Regions from separate parts of the Homo sapiens genome. Here regions 1, 3, 4 and 5 are each linked to region 2. The links are contacts of gene promoters, found by promoter capture Hi-C in blood cells and fetal thymus (Javierre and others, 2016). All regions are on one chromosome and are shown on one strand. Each heading gives the region's core, a stretch centred on a gene start or on the middle of the fragment in contact. The rest is flanking DNA. Distances are from core to core; before and after follow the strand shown.

Region 1 (2,700 bases), core at 94-2,593, 250 kb after region 2:
TAAAACAAAAGATAATATATTATTTATGTATACACAGTTTAACAGTTAAAAGCTTTTTTGCTTTTTGCTTTTCCCATTCAGGTTTTCATCCCAATTGGCATGTATATTTTTGTATGGTATGAGGTAAAGGACTAATTTAATTTGTGTTATTCAAATATTCTGTATCTTCTAATTCAAAACTTCTTTATCCCATTAAAATATTGTACTAACATTTATAAATTAACTTTCTCCTTGTAATTTTATCAATTACATACATACATGCATGTATATGTATACATATACACACATGTCAGAGAAGTCTTGTTTCTTTAGTGAATTATTCTTTTTCTCATTACAATGATCCTCTCTAGAACTAAAAATGTTTTTAGTTTTGGTGTGCATATTTTCCCTATCATCAACATGTTTCTATTTGCTTTTCTCTGAACATTTGCCTAGTGTATCTTTTCCATGCTTTACTTTCTCTCAACCTATCTTGATGTATTTTAGGTAATGCTCTTAAAAAGATCACTTCAATGAAAAACTAAAAAAACAAGATCTGATCACCTCTGTCATTTAAGTTGTAAGTTCTGCCAATTTATACTTACGGAAACTATTCATACATTTGATTTTAATTCTACCATCTTATTTTGTACTATTTATTATTTTTTTCTTTATTACTTCTTCCTTGCCTTTTATTGATCTTTTTATTCTTCAACGAATATAAAAAGTCTATTTGTAATCTTTTAGGGGTTCCCTTAAGTTTTCCTTTAATATTTTAAAAAATGTTTTCCGTGACAAAATACCTAGCGTACGTATATTAATAAAGCAAACATTCTTCTGAGGACTTAAACAACTGTATATATTATATATCCTTTATTTTTTTAATTCATATCTGACATGGTTAAAATCTCTACTTATACCAAAATCTTATCTAGGTAGAGAGATATAGGAGATTTAGTCACAGATTTACATATAGAATTAAAACTTTCAGTTTCCTCATTTCAATTACAGTGCTCTATTAACAGGTTCTGATGCTTTCATGACAATGTCTCATATATTCCTAGAGATTTAAAAATATTTCCTTTCTATTTTTTTTTGAGATGGAGTCTCGCTCTGTCGCCCAGGCTGGAGTGCAGTGGCACGATCTCAGCTCACTGCAAGCTCTGCCTCCCGGGTTCACACCATTCTCCTGCTTCAGCCTCCCGAGTAGCTGGGATGATAGGTGCCCGCCACCATGTCCGGCTAGTTTTTTTGTAATTTTTAGTAGAGACGGGGTTTCACCGTGTTAGCCAGGATGGTCTCAATCTCTTGACCTCATGATCCACCCACCTTGGCCTCCCAAAGCACTAGGATTACAGGCGTGAGCCACCGCACACAGCCGAGATTTAAAAATATTTCTTATGAAGAAATCAAACATCCTATCATACTATGCATATACATAAAAACAATGCAATGCAACATACACCAAAATTTCCAACACCTGGTGTGGATCACTACAATATGTAAATTGGGATGCAAACATCTATATTGTTTTGCATCCATACCATAGGTCCTTCAAAGATCACAAGGGGAATATTAATTGAGATGGTAGTGGTTTTAATGTATAACCAAGTATTAAGTTAAATTCTAGAAAAACGTGGTATCCCTTTATACCAGCTTCTCTAATAACTATTCCAATAGAAAACCAGAGAGCCACTGTGCAATATGACTAAACACTAAGAGTGGATAGTCCTCAAAGGCAATGTAATTATTCAGGGATAGCCTAAACAGGAACAGGTTAAGTGGCACAGCAAGCTCTCTCTGATTATACCAATTATGAGTCCCAAAGATACTCAGGAGTCAAAATTTAGGAAATACCCACATTATTAAGAAAGATGGATTATTTTGTGATGCAGATAATACCACAAAGGATATCTTTAAGGAGTTATGTGGGTCTTTGGGGTGAGTGCAAAAAAGGGTAGTTAAAATGTTAGTGCTAAATACACGAAATCTTCTCTACTAATTTCAAATCATTATTTTTTCATAAATAAATAAGTATATCCCTATCACTCAAATTTTAGTAAAGGACATACAATAAAATTTAAAATACCTAAAGAAATACTTAATTTGATCCTACCTCTATCTAATAATTGTTAAAGCTGTTAATTAGCATGGACATTTAAGAACACCTTCAACCCCCAAATTCCTGACTGATAACCGGTCTCCAATCTTTCCTCTTCTGTATCTTATGTCTTATCTGAAAGGGTAGCTTTTAGGAAGTTACGGTTCCTAATAAGAGACATAATACATTCTAAATTGTCTTAAAATTTAAAACTGTTACGGAAAATAATTGTCATCTGCTAACACAACACTCTTTAATGGATAATGTTATTTTCAATGACTTGGTATTAAAATGCTCATCTTTCTGATGATTAGTGATGTTGAGCTTTTCATATACCTATTAGACATGTATATGTCTTCTTTGAGAAATGCCTACTCAGATCTTTTGCCCATTTTCACATTGTATTTTTGTTTTTTTGCTATTGAATTGTTTGAGTTCCTTATATATTCTGGTTATTGATCCCTCAACAGTGGAATCGTTTGCAAATATTTTCTCCCATTCTGTAAGCTGTATCTTCACTTTGTTGACTGTTTCCTTTGCCATGCAGAAGCTTTTTAGCTAAATGTGATCCCATTTGTTCATTTTTGCTTTGGTCACCTGTGCTTTTGAGGTCTTACTCA
Region 2 (2,700 bases), core at 72-2,571:
TGCAGGATTTAGAAGGGACTGCAAAAGTCACTTTAAAAAAAAATTACCACCTTTTCAGTAAAGCCTCTTAATGGGGAAATGTGGTATGTGACTAGAAGTTGACTAATTTTCTTAGATGGAAGTATAAAATAAAAAGAAGCTCTGTTGTCACAAATGCGGATGGGGGGAAGAGGACAGACTTCATGCAGGACTGGAGTTGGACAGGGTTCAGGGCTGAGAACACACCTTACTACCCTGGCTTCCCCTTCTCTACTTTCAAGACTGAACCAATGTGCCCTATACAAGGCGAAGAATACACCCGGTCACTCCGCGGTGGTTAGAGTGGAGATTCACTGGGTGCAGTCTAAAGCGGGACGCAGTCTGGGGGCCACCGTCACAAGCTGCTTACAGCAACCTAGAGTTGTCGAGATTAATGTTTCTGGAATGTGAAGTGACTTAAAAAAAAATTAATCACTTCCTGGCTCGGTGCGGTTGCCTGTAATCCTGGCACTTTGGGAGGCCGAGATGGAGGATCGCTTGAACCCAGGAGTTCCAGACTAGGCTGGGCAACATGGTGAGACCTCCTCTCTACAAAATAAAAATAAGCCAAGCATGGTCGCGCGCGCCTGTAGTTCCAGCTACTCGGAGGCTGAGGTGGGAAGATCCCTTGGAGTTCCAGACTGCAGTGAGCCGTTATTGCGCCACTGCACTCAGGCCTAGGCGACAGAGCGAAACCCTGTCCCCCACGCCCAAAAAATCGTATTTCCTGAGGGAACAGTTCCAACTAAACATCCCACTTTGTGCGTAACTTTACATTCAATCCATCATCACCTCAAGAACAAAATGTTCTTTCTCCGCCTCAAACATGGAGGACAGAAAAACAGAAGTTCTCTCAAACCCACCAAGCACGCTGTTTTCCTGAGACGGAAAAGAAGGATAACAGCCGCTACGGCGCACAGCCTGTAGGGGAGGACGGCAACCAGGAAAGGCCAAACTTAGCCGCAGTAGTGCCGGGGCGTGCTCGCGGCCCACGGCGTCCCACGTCGTCCCACGTCAGCCTTGTCCCGGCAGAGCTTCACGAGAGGAAAGGCGGGATTCAGGGTGGGCGCGTGCCCTACGAAGACGAAACGAACTTTGAAGACAACTAGAGGAGCTCGCCCCCTGCCTGTGACAGCTTAGGGTCGCCTACTTTTTGTGGACACACTGCCGTCCACGGAGTGCAGAGGCCGCCTGCAGTTTTCTTGCGTCCCTGTGAGACGCACGGTGGCGCAATTCCCGAGCGTGCCAATCCCGGGCTGGCTGGAGGGCGGGCTCTTCAAATTTGAATTGCGGAAGTGTTTTGTGTGTTAGAGAACGTCGCGGAGGAGGTAAGCGTCGCTTGGCGCCTGGCCGCCGCGGGCAGGATACACCGTGGGCCTGAGGCGCGAGCCCGGCGGCGTGCGGCCCTCTCTCCGCGCGGAGCCGAGCCGGAACTGCGGCAGTCTCTCCCTGCCAGGCTCTTCATCCAAGGTACGTCCTCCCCGCGCCCTCCGCTAACCTCCTACCGCGGGTCCCCGCAGATGGTGGGCGTCTGCCCTTTAAGCATCTCGGCTCACGCGGTTTTATTTATTTTTTTTGTAGATTTCTGGCTTTGGTACGGATTTTATACTTCGCACTCGATGTTTACTTGTTGCGTGTCTACTGTACTTAAGAGAGTAGAACACGATTGCTCAAATTTATTTCGATGGTGAGCGTTCTAGGTCTTTGTTCTAAAATAAATTTTTTTTTTTTTTTTTTAGAATACCAAGTGGGAAAATTGTATTCCTCAGTACCCAACTCTTCCCCTTGGGACCCCAGGACCCACAGGGCTATAGAAGCAGTTGATCATTCAGCTTATGTTTTCTTCTGGTTAAATTGCATGCTTGTTGCAAACATCTTTAGATGTTAATAAAATTATTTAGAAAATGGTCGGGCGCGGTGGCACACGCCTGTGATCCCACACTTTGGGAGGCCGAGGCGGGTGGATCTTTTGAGCTCAGGAGTTCAAGAAAATGGTAGGCCACTTCATCCTGGCCTTCAAAGATAAACACTGTTTACAATTTGGTTCACCGCTTCCAGAGTTTTTCTCTATGCCTGTATGTGTTTTATTTATTTACTTAAAAATTTTTTTAAACAAATGCAATTCTATGTTGTTACTTTCTTTTTCAATTTAATGTTTCTTGGATACTTTTCCATATAAGTACATATATATCTTTTTATTGAATACATAGAGTAAATTGTATGGATGTGGCGGGATTTATTTTGTCCTTTATTGGTAGACATCTGGGTTGTTTCATTTCATTTTATGCTGCAGTGAACTTCCCTGTGTAGTGGGTGTGTAGACTGTTGCCTGTTGGTAAATAACTGAAGCTATGGAGTCGGGTAGAATCGGTTCCTCTTTCTCACTTATTGTCAAGTGACCTTGGGCAGCTTACTTAACCACCTTATACCTTAATTTCTCTTTTTTCAAATTGGGAGTAATAACAGTACTTAACTCTTTAGAGTTGCTGTTAGATTATATAGTGGCTGGCATGTAAATATTCAGTAAATATCGGCAATTATGGTACATATATATTTGCATTCTTACGCAGATGTTTCTATAGGAAAAAACAAGTTAGAAGTGGAATTTCCGTGTCAATAGTATGCATACTTGCATTTTGAAATTAATATTTACCAATGTGATATGAAAAAGAAATCTCACTG
Region 3 (2,700 bases), core at 85-2,584, 230 kb after region 2:
GCTGAAGCAATTTTCCCACCTCAGCCTCCTGCGTAGCTAGGACTACAGACGCACAGCACCAGGCCTGCCCAATTTTTTGTATTTTTTTTTTTTTTGGTAGAGATGGGGTTTTGCCATGTTGTCCAGGCTGGTCTTGAACTCTTGAGTTCAAGTGATCTGCCCGCCTGGGCCTCCCAAAGAATGGGATTACAGGAGTGAGCCACTGCACCTGGCAGAGCTGGGTGTTTAAGATGGTTTCAAGGAGCAAGGATTTGAGCTGGGATTTGAAGACAGGAAGGATCTGTATAAAGTAAAGAAGGAGAGGGGGAAATCTATGAGATGGGGATGTTTACATGCAGAGTTGAAAGTTTCTAAAGCATTTATGTGGAGCGAATAAATGAGCTTGGCCGGGCAAATAAAGGAATAACAGAAAATAAGTTTACAAGAGTAAGCTGTAGCCAATCTGAGGAGGGTTTTAAAATAACCTAATGAGACTATCAAGCAAAGAAGTTAGGACAAATTTTTCAAAACGTTTATTCTATTTCATTATATTGAACAAAAATAAGATGCATACCCTCAATGTATATTACCACATTCTAGTTTTCAATTAAAATAGAAAATAGCTTTAAAGGATACTTGCAATAATTTTGTTCAAGGTCCCTTAGCCCCCTTAAAATATATAACAGGAGTTTAATTTTCACTTGTCTAGATCTTGTATGGGAGATAATTATATTAATTTATATTGATTATTACGCTGATAAATAAGGGCTACTTGAATTTAAACTATGCTAAAACTAAGTAAGCTATCCTAAAATAGTCTTAGAAGTACCTAAACTGCAGCTGTCACATAATACATCTCTCTGAAAATTAATGACATGAATTTACTATAGTTTCATTAGAAGATAGAAATGTGAAGGTAAGTATTCACTTCTAATTATTTTAATGAAGATAATGTAATACATTTTTAAAAAGAAGTTCCACTCAACACTTGAATCACATTCTTTTCTATTCCTTATTGATAGGCTTTGCTTCTATATGATGAATACATATAATTAAGAAGCGAAATAACTTTGAAATACCTTTTCCAACAACTACTACTGAGTCTTCTGATAAAGCCTTTGTGGTTGTGAAGTCAAAACTGGAAATTTGCTGTGGATTTGATGATGACCCTGTAAATCCCCCAAAAAACAAAACAAATACTTAAACATATTTGCTTATTATGTAGTATCTTAGGATATTGTAACATAGTCTTTTAAAACTGAAAATTTATTTCATACAAAGAATTTACAATTTATTCACACGTTCATTAAGTCATTATAAATGTTTGTAACTGCAATACTAGAATGGACTAGGCACTTAAACCTTCCTTTCCTTTTTTTTTTTTTTTTGAGATGGAGTCTCGCTCTGTCGCCCAGGCTGGAATGCAGTGGTGTGATCTTGGCTCACTGCTACCTCCACCTCCTGGGTTCAAGCGATTCTCCTGCCTCAGCCTCCTGAGTAGCTGGGATTACAGGTACGCACCACCATGCTCAGCTCATTTTTGTATTTTTAGTAGAGATGGGGTTTCACCATTTTGGTCAGGCTGATCTCGACCTCCTGACCTCATGATCCGCCTGCCTCGGCCTCCCAAAGTGCTGGTATTACAGGCATGAGCCACCATGCCTGGCCCCTTCCTTTCCTTAAGGAGTTTACATGTCAGGGTGAGGTGTGAGAGGCATACAAGCGACTTATCACAGCATGATAATCAGGCAACAAAAGGGTCATCAAAAAGAAAATCCTCTGACATCAGAAAACAGATCAGGTCAATGTCACAGCAATCTGTGCTTTTCTAGGTTAACTTTTATCTTAGTTTCTGATTCTTTATTTACAATCCTACTAGACTGTAAGTTCCATGGGGATAGGATCTATGTCTAGTTTTGATGATTATTCTTTCCCAGAGCCTAATATAGTGTTTGGCACATACCAGGTATTCCATAAATATATGTTAGATGAATGTATCAAGGCAAAAAAAGAAAAGAGAAATATGTATTGCTTTAGGTTTTATGAAAGAAAAGCAGTTAAACAGTGATAAAGTCAATCAAATAATTGATTTTTAAAAATTAAGCAGCAGATAGATTGTTTTGTCAACTGCTAATGCTAATAGTAACCTGGCTTTATGTGAAAATGGCAAAGATTAAAGAAAGAAATCCATGTAAGTGATCATTTTTCATGTATTTCTTCTTTAGTATGCAATCAAAATTAGTACACACATCAACTAACAGAAACACGGGTTAGCCCAAAAACGTGTTCTGTGACAAAGAGAAAAAAATCTCAGTAAATGGAATAATTTGCTCAACAGTCCACATAAACATAAAATCTATACATAAACTATCAAGAGACGAATGATCAGACAAATCTCATCAAAAAAATATAAAAGACATGTTATCTCCAATGAGTTTAACTTCATTTATAAGAGAAGCTGTCATTAATCATTTTTAATATATTTTTATGTTTTACACTATATTTTTCTTAAAGAAATGTTGAAAGAAATATTGTTCATTAAGTCTCAATTCTAAAATATATAGAAAATATGTTTAAAGGCTTCTTCACACACAAATATCATTATATATTTTTTCTTTGTTATAATACTTCCATCTAATTCAAATATCAAAAGAGTAAATAGTAAATCATGGAATCTAGTTTGCTAATACTTCAAGCACCCTCCACTTTCTCAAGTTATTA
Region 4 (2,700 bases), core at 113-2,612, 180 kb after region 2:
TTTTGGATGTTATATGTATTATATACTGTATTCTTACAAAAAAGTAAGCTAGAGAAAAGAAAATATTAGGAGAGAGAAGAAAAATAAATTTACAGTATTGTATTTGTCAATAATGCAAATTTATGTCATCTGTTTACAAGATTAGTCATCTGTCTGAAATGGTGAGCAACCACAGCTGCAGACCTCAAGCTACTCAGATATCAAGCAATTCAAATTTATCATGTCATGACTTTCCCCTGCTTATTGGGAGCACTTCCAGCATCACTAGTGGCACTTCATATAGGTCTGATGGTGTCACTCAAGTTTTATGGTATTATAGTAAACCTGATGAAAAATACTTAAGAACCATCCATTTGCATATGTTGAACCATCCTTGCATCCCTGGGATAAATTCCACGTGGACATGACGGATAATCTTTTTTTTCTTTTTTTTGAGATGGAGTCTCACTCTGTCATCCAGGCTGAAGTGCAGTGGCGTGATCTTGGTTCACTGCAAGCTCCACCTCCCGGGTTCATGCCATTCTCCTGCCTCAGCCTCCCAAGTAGCTGGGACTACAGGCACCTGCCACCACGCCCGGCTAATTTTTTGTATTTTTAGTAGAGACGGGGTTTCACCATGTTAGCCAGGATGGTCTCGATCTCCTGACCTCGTGATCTGCCTGCCTCGGCCTCCCAAAGTGCTGCAATTACAGGTGTGAGCCACTGTGCCTGGCCGAATAATCTTTTTATACAAATTTGTTTCATGTTCCTAATATTTTGTTCTTTTTTATTAAGTAGTATTCCATGGTATATTTAGATTTTAAAGAAACTGCCAAACCTAGAGTGGCTGTACCATTTTATTTACATTCTCACCAGCTGTGTATGAGATGTAGTTTCTCTGTAATCTTGTCAGCATTTTGTATTGTCACTATTTTTTATTTTGGATGTTCTAATACTTGTGTGGTGATCATGGCCTTAACTTGCATATGCATTTCCCGGATGGCTAGTGATGTTGAACATCTTTTCACTTGCTTATTTGACCAGTCACACATCCTCCCTTATTTGCCATCCGTATAGCCTCATGGTTTAAATATTTTTTCAGGTCTTTTGTCTATTTTTTTATTTGAGTTTTTTTTTATGTTGAGCTTTGAGATTTCTTTACATATTCTAGGTATGAGTTCTTTGTCAAATATGCGGTTTGAAAATATTTTTCCCAGTCTGTAGCTTGTCCCTTTATCTATTTTTTTTTAATTTTTTAAAATTTTTTGATACAGAGTCTCACTCTGCTGCCCAGGCTGCAGTGCAGTGGTACAATCTTGGCTCACTGCAACCTCCACCTCCTGGGTTCAAGCGATTCTCCTGCCTCAGCTTCCAGGGTAGCTGGGATTACAGGCACGCACCACCACACCCAGCTAATTTTTGTATTTATAGTAGAGATGGGGTTTCACTATATTAGCCAGGATGGTCTTGAACTCCCAACCTCAGGTGATCTGCCCACCTTGGCAGATCAACCCCAAAGGGCTGAGATTATAGGATCATGCTTTTAGTGCCATATGTAAAACTTTTCACCAAGTCCTAAGATTTTCTCATGTTATCTTCTAAAAGTTTTACATTTAAGTTGTACATTTAACTCTACGATCCATTTTGAGTTAGTTTATTTATTATTATTTTCTTATTTTTATATTTTTTTCTTTATTTTATTTCTGGATCATCTCATGCCGAAGTATTGAGTTAGTTTTGTTAGCAGATGTGAGGTTGAGGCAGAAAAAGAAATAAAAGTCACAGATAAGGGAAAAGAAAGTCAATTTAATGGGACAGAATTTAATCACTAAAAATAATTTTAAAACCATTGAGAATAGAAAGTTTTATGATAATATTAAGTTTAAAAAACTGAATAACTAGGATTTCAGCATTACAAAAAAAGTATGGATGGAATCAGAAAACATGAAAAGAAAGTGAAAATAATTTGAGTGCCGAAGTAAGATTTCTTACCTACATGCTGACTCAGTGCCTGAACAACATTTGTAGCAGCCGCATAGATGCCTGGATTCTTGGAATTCAGATTGTTATCCACTATTGCTGGAATTAGCATGTTGATTATAGGAGATAAGTGGTCTCTAAGTAGAGGAATCATTTTGTGCATTGTTTCCAGAGCCACCAGATTTACTTTACTATTAGAATCATGAAGTCGAGATTTAAAAGCATCAAAAATCTGAAAATAAATTGGTAAATTATTTAAAGTAAAATGATTTTTATAGCTATTGTATTTATAAGTATCTTGGCATGTCATAATATTTCTCCTACTTTACTCAGTTTAAATATATACACAACATCCTATTTTGCCTGAACTTGGATAACAGGAACTTTATAAAAATTTGGGTACTAAATCTAAGTGTCAAATCTTCTTGTAACAAAAAGAGAAGGCCTCAAAAATCACCCCAAAAGACATCCTAATAAAGGCTGAAAAATGTGGCTCAGTAGGCAGATGACTGACTGACTGACTGTAAATATGATAAACATCTTGTTTTCTGGAAGATGGAGGTTAGCTTAGCTAACTCTAAGAACTTAGAAAAGTTTCTGTTTTTATCTCTTTTCACACTAGAAGTAGACTTGTAAGTTTTACTGTGGAGATTTAACCTAGTTTCAGTTTAGGTTTATTATGAAAATTTTAGATGCAATTTCAGAGTTAAATTTGTATTATTATCTCTTAACCTGAAAACT
Region 5 (2,700 bases), core at 33-2,532, 200 kb after region 2:
TGTAATCCCAGCACTTTGGGAGGCCGAGTCAGGCGGATCACCTGAGGTCAGGAGTTCAAGACAAGCCTGGCCAACATGGTGAAACCCCGTCTCTACTAAAAAATACAAAAAATTAGTTGGGCGTGGTGGTGGGCACCTGTAATCCCAGCTACTCGAGAGGCTGAGGCAGGAGAATCGCTTGAACCCAAGAGGTGGAGGTTGTAGTGAGCCGAGATCACACCACTGCACTCTAGCCTAGTGGCACAGCAAGACTCTGTCTCAAAAGAAAAAAAAAAAAAAAAAAAAGACATTGCACTTACCCTCAAGGAGCTCCCTAAAAATGTTCTGCAGTGTGGTAATAGCTCTAATAGTGGGACATGCAAGGTAAATAAAGCAGGGACTAAACATGGTAAACATTATTATCCTCATTTTATAAAGTGAGAATTCTAGTTAGAGAAATGAAGAGGCATGTGTAAGTTACACAGTTGCTAACTGTTAGAGCTGCAATTCAAACCCATGTCTTGTTAACTCCAATAAGCCAAACTATATTCTACCAAACATCAAGCTTCTGTGCAATAAACATTTACTTCCAAGGCTTGACAATATGTATGTCTACTTAGTATTGTAATTGTTGAAATGCTATTGCAGATATAGTCCAATAGTCCAAATGATTAACAGAGAAATAATCAAATAAATAATTATTCCTATCCTTTACCTGGATGTAAAAACAAGCTTTGCTTATAAAGCTGTTTATAAAACAAACTTTTCCCACATACCTTTTGCTGTAAGTTTCTAACAGAGTCCTTAATATATGGCAAATCTTTAGATGGGACATACTTTTCAAGCATTTTTTCAAAGTTAGGATGACACATCATGAAGAACAGCATCTTTCGACCATAATACCTGTGAGTATTTGAAAAACAGGTATATTACTTTTTAGACATTAATAAGCTCAGTTGCTGACCTTAGATGCATTGTTTCAATAGAAAAAAAACACCTATCAAACATCAAGATTACCATCCCTATATTAAATAACCATGAAAATATAGATATCCTAACTGTATAGGATACCCTAGAGGGTACAGATGGTCTCCGACTTACAACGGTTTGACTTATAATTTTTCAACTTTATAATAGTGTGAAAGAGATATGATTCTGTGGAAACCATACTTTGAATTTTGACTTTTTCCATGGCTAGTCATATGCAGTATGACACTCTTTTAAGATGCTGGGCAGCAGCAGCGAGCCACAGCTCCCACTCAGCCATATGATCACCATACTCTACAATGTACTGTGTTGCCAGATGATTCTGTCTAAGCGTAGGCTAATGTAAGTGTTCTCAGCATGTTTAAGGTAAGGCTTGGCTACATTATGATGTTTGGTAGGTTAGGTGTTTAAATGCACTTTTGGCTTATGATAATTCCTATTCATGATGGGTTTATTGGGATATAACCTCATTGTAAGTTAAGAAGCATCTGTGGCCAGGTACAGTGGCTCACGCCTGTAATCCCAGCACTTTGGGAGGCCAAGGCAGGTGGATCACAAGGTCAGGAGTTCGAGATCAGCCTGGCCAACATGATGAAACCCCGTCTCTCCTAAAAAAATACAAAAATTAGCCAGATGTGTTGGCGTGCTCAGGTAATCCCAGTTATTCAGGAGACTGAGGCAGGAAAATCATTTGAATCCAGGAGGTGGAGGTTGCAGTGAGCCGAGATCACACCATTGCACTCCAGCCTGGGCAACAGAGTGAGACTGCGTCTCAAAAAAAAAAAAAAAAAAAAAAAAGCATCTGTTGGGATGCTCCCATAATCCCCCTTTAAAGTCACTGTCTTCAAATCCTTCTGCCATGTGCCAGATGGAGAGACAAAAGCTTTGATTCTATTTTTCAGGCACCCCAAGGTCCATATCAATGCTGGCATTTGGGAGAATTGTGAAGTTTTCCTCCATCCTGGGCTCCTTGCCCATTGACCATTTGCTGTCCACCTAAGGGCCAGATGTTCTGGCCTGAGTCAACCCTCCCTAGGTCCTGTATTTCTCATTCTCTGTTTTTCCCTAGCCAAAACTTACCAGGGTTCTGATTCTTCAGAATCCTATTCTTTACTACCTAAAATACACCCAAGGTTAGTTGATAAAATTGTGACTGATATGTTAATACAGGTAATAATCTCAAAAACTAGGTTTTCTTATTTATATGAATTATAAAATAATCATCTTAGCATAATACTTTAAGCCCAATGATTCTAATGGTGGAAATTCAGATATCATGGAAGTGCATACTGGAGATATTTTAGCACACAGATGTCTTATACTACTTCAAAATAGTACCACACTATTCATCTTCAATGAGGCCGGGCCCTAAAATAAATCACAGTTACACTTTTACTCACAACTTGGAATATATGGCACAAAAAGAACCAGAGAAGAGGCTGGGCGTGGTGGCTCACACCTGTAATCCCAGCACTTTGGGAGGCCAAGGCAGGTGGATCACCTGAGGCCAGGAGTTAGAGACTAGCCTGGCCAACATGGTGAAACCCAGTGTCTACTAAAAATACAAAAATCAGCCAGGCATGGTGGCACATGCCTGTAATCCCAGCAACTCAGGAGGCTGAGGCATGAGAATCGCTTGAACCTGGGAGGTGGAGGTTGCAGTGAACTGAGATTGCACCACTGCCCTCTAGCCTGGGTGACAGAGTCTTGGGGGAAAAAAAAAGGAACGAGAAA

What was found. Contacts are between HindIII fragments. The CHiCAGO score rates a contact against its expected background, and 5 or more counts as called.
Region 1: a contact is called between a fragment that was not itself captured here and the fragment with the promoter of MIS18BP1 in region 2, in 2 of 17 cell types (neutrophils and monocytes). The highest score is 6.5, in neutrophils.
Region 3: a fragment that was not itself captured here is called in contact with the fragment with the promoter of MIS18BP1 in region 2 in 1 of 17 cell types (monocytes); the score reaches 6.3 in monocytes.
Region 4: a fragment that was not itself captured here is called in contact with the fragment with the promoter of MIS18BP1 in region 2 in 4 of 17 cell types (monocytes, neutrophils, total CD4 T cells and 1 more); the score reaches 10.0 in monocytes.
Region 5: a fragment that was not itself captured here is called in contact with the fragment with the promoter of MIS18BP1 in region 2 in 4 of 17 cell types (total B cells, activated CD4 T cells, monocytes and 1 more); the score reaches 5.5 in total B cells.

Annotation. Positions count from the first base shown.
Region 1 is chr14:45,001,355-45,004,054 of GRCh38, reverse strand. All of the region lies in intron 3 of TOGARAM1 (TOG array regulator of axonemal microtubules 1), which reads right to left. Among named protein-coding and RNA genes, the nearest start is that of TOGARAM1, 41 kb to the right of the region's middle. The HindIII fragment of the contact is 2,578 bases long and covers 55-2,632 here.
Region 2 is chr14:45,251,823-45,254,522 of GRCh38, reverse strand. It overlaps MIS18BP1 (MIS18 binding protein 1), which reads left to right and starts at 1,321. Exons shown (of 17, transcript NM_018353.5): 1 at 1,321-1,488. LOC107984674 (a long non-coding RNA gene) reads right to left here and starts at 1,232. Exons shown (of 4, transcript XR_001750746.2): 1 at 882-1,232. RefSeq lists enhancers at 673-732, 803-992, 154-1,103, 1,013-1,192, 1,293-1,352. The HindIII fragment of the contact is 13,340 bases long and covers 1-2,700 here.
Region 3 is chr14:45,024,231-45,026,930 of GRCh38, reverse strand. It overlaps TOGARAM1 (TOG array regulator of axonemal microtubules 1), which reads right to left. Exons shown (of 20, transcript NM_001308120.2): 8 at 1,059-1,148. Among named protein-coding and RNA genes, the nearest start is that of PRPF39-DT, 58 kb to the left of the region's middle. The HindIII fragment of the contact is 3,823 bases long and covers 1-2,700 here.
Region 4 is chr14:45,067,915-45,070,614 of GRCh38, reverse strand. TOGARAM1 (TOG array regulator of axonemal microtubules 1) reads right to left here. Exons shown (of 20, transcript NM_001308120.2): 18 at 1,972-2,191. Among named protein-coding and RNA genes, the nearest start is that of PRPF39-DT, 15 kb to the left of the region's middle. The HindIII fragment of the contact is 4,259 bases long and covers 1-2,700 here.
Region 5 is chr14:45,050,618-45,053,317 of GRCh38, reverse strand. It overlaps TOGARAM1 (TOG array regulator of axonemal microtubules 1), which reads right to left. Exons shown (of 20, transcript NM_001308120.2): 15 at 756-882. Among named protein-coding and RNA genes, the nearest start is that of PRPF39-DT, 32 kb to the left of the region's middle. The HindIII fragment of the contact is 1,138 bases long and covers 714-1,851 here.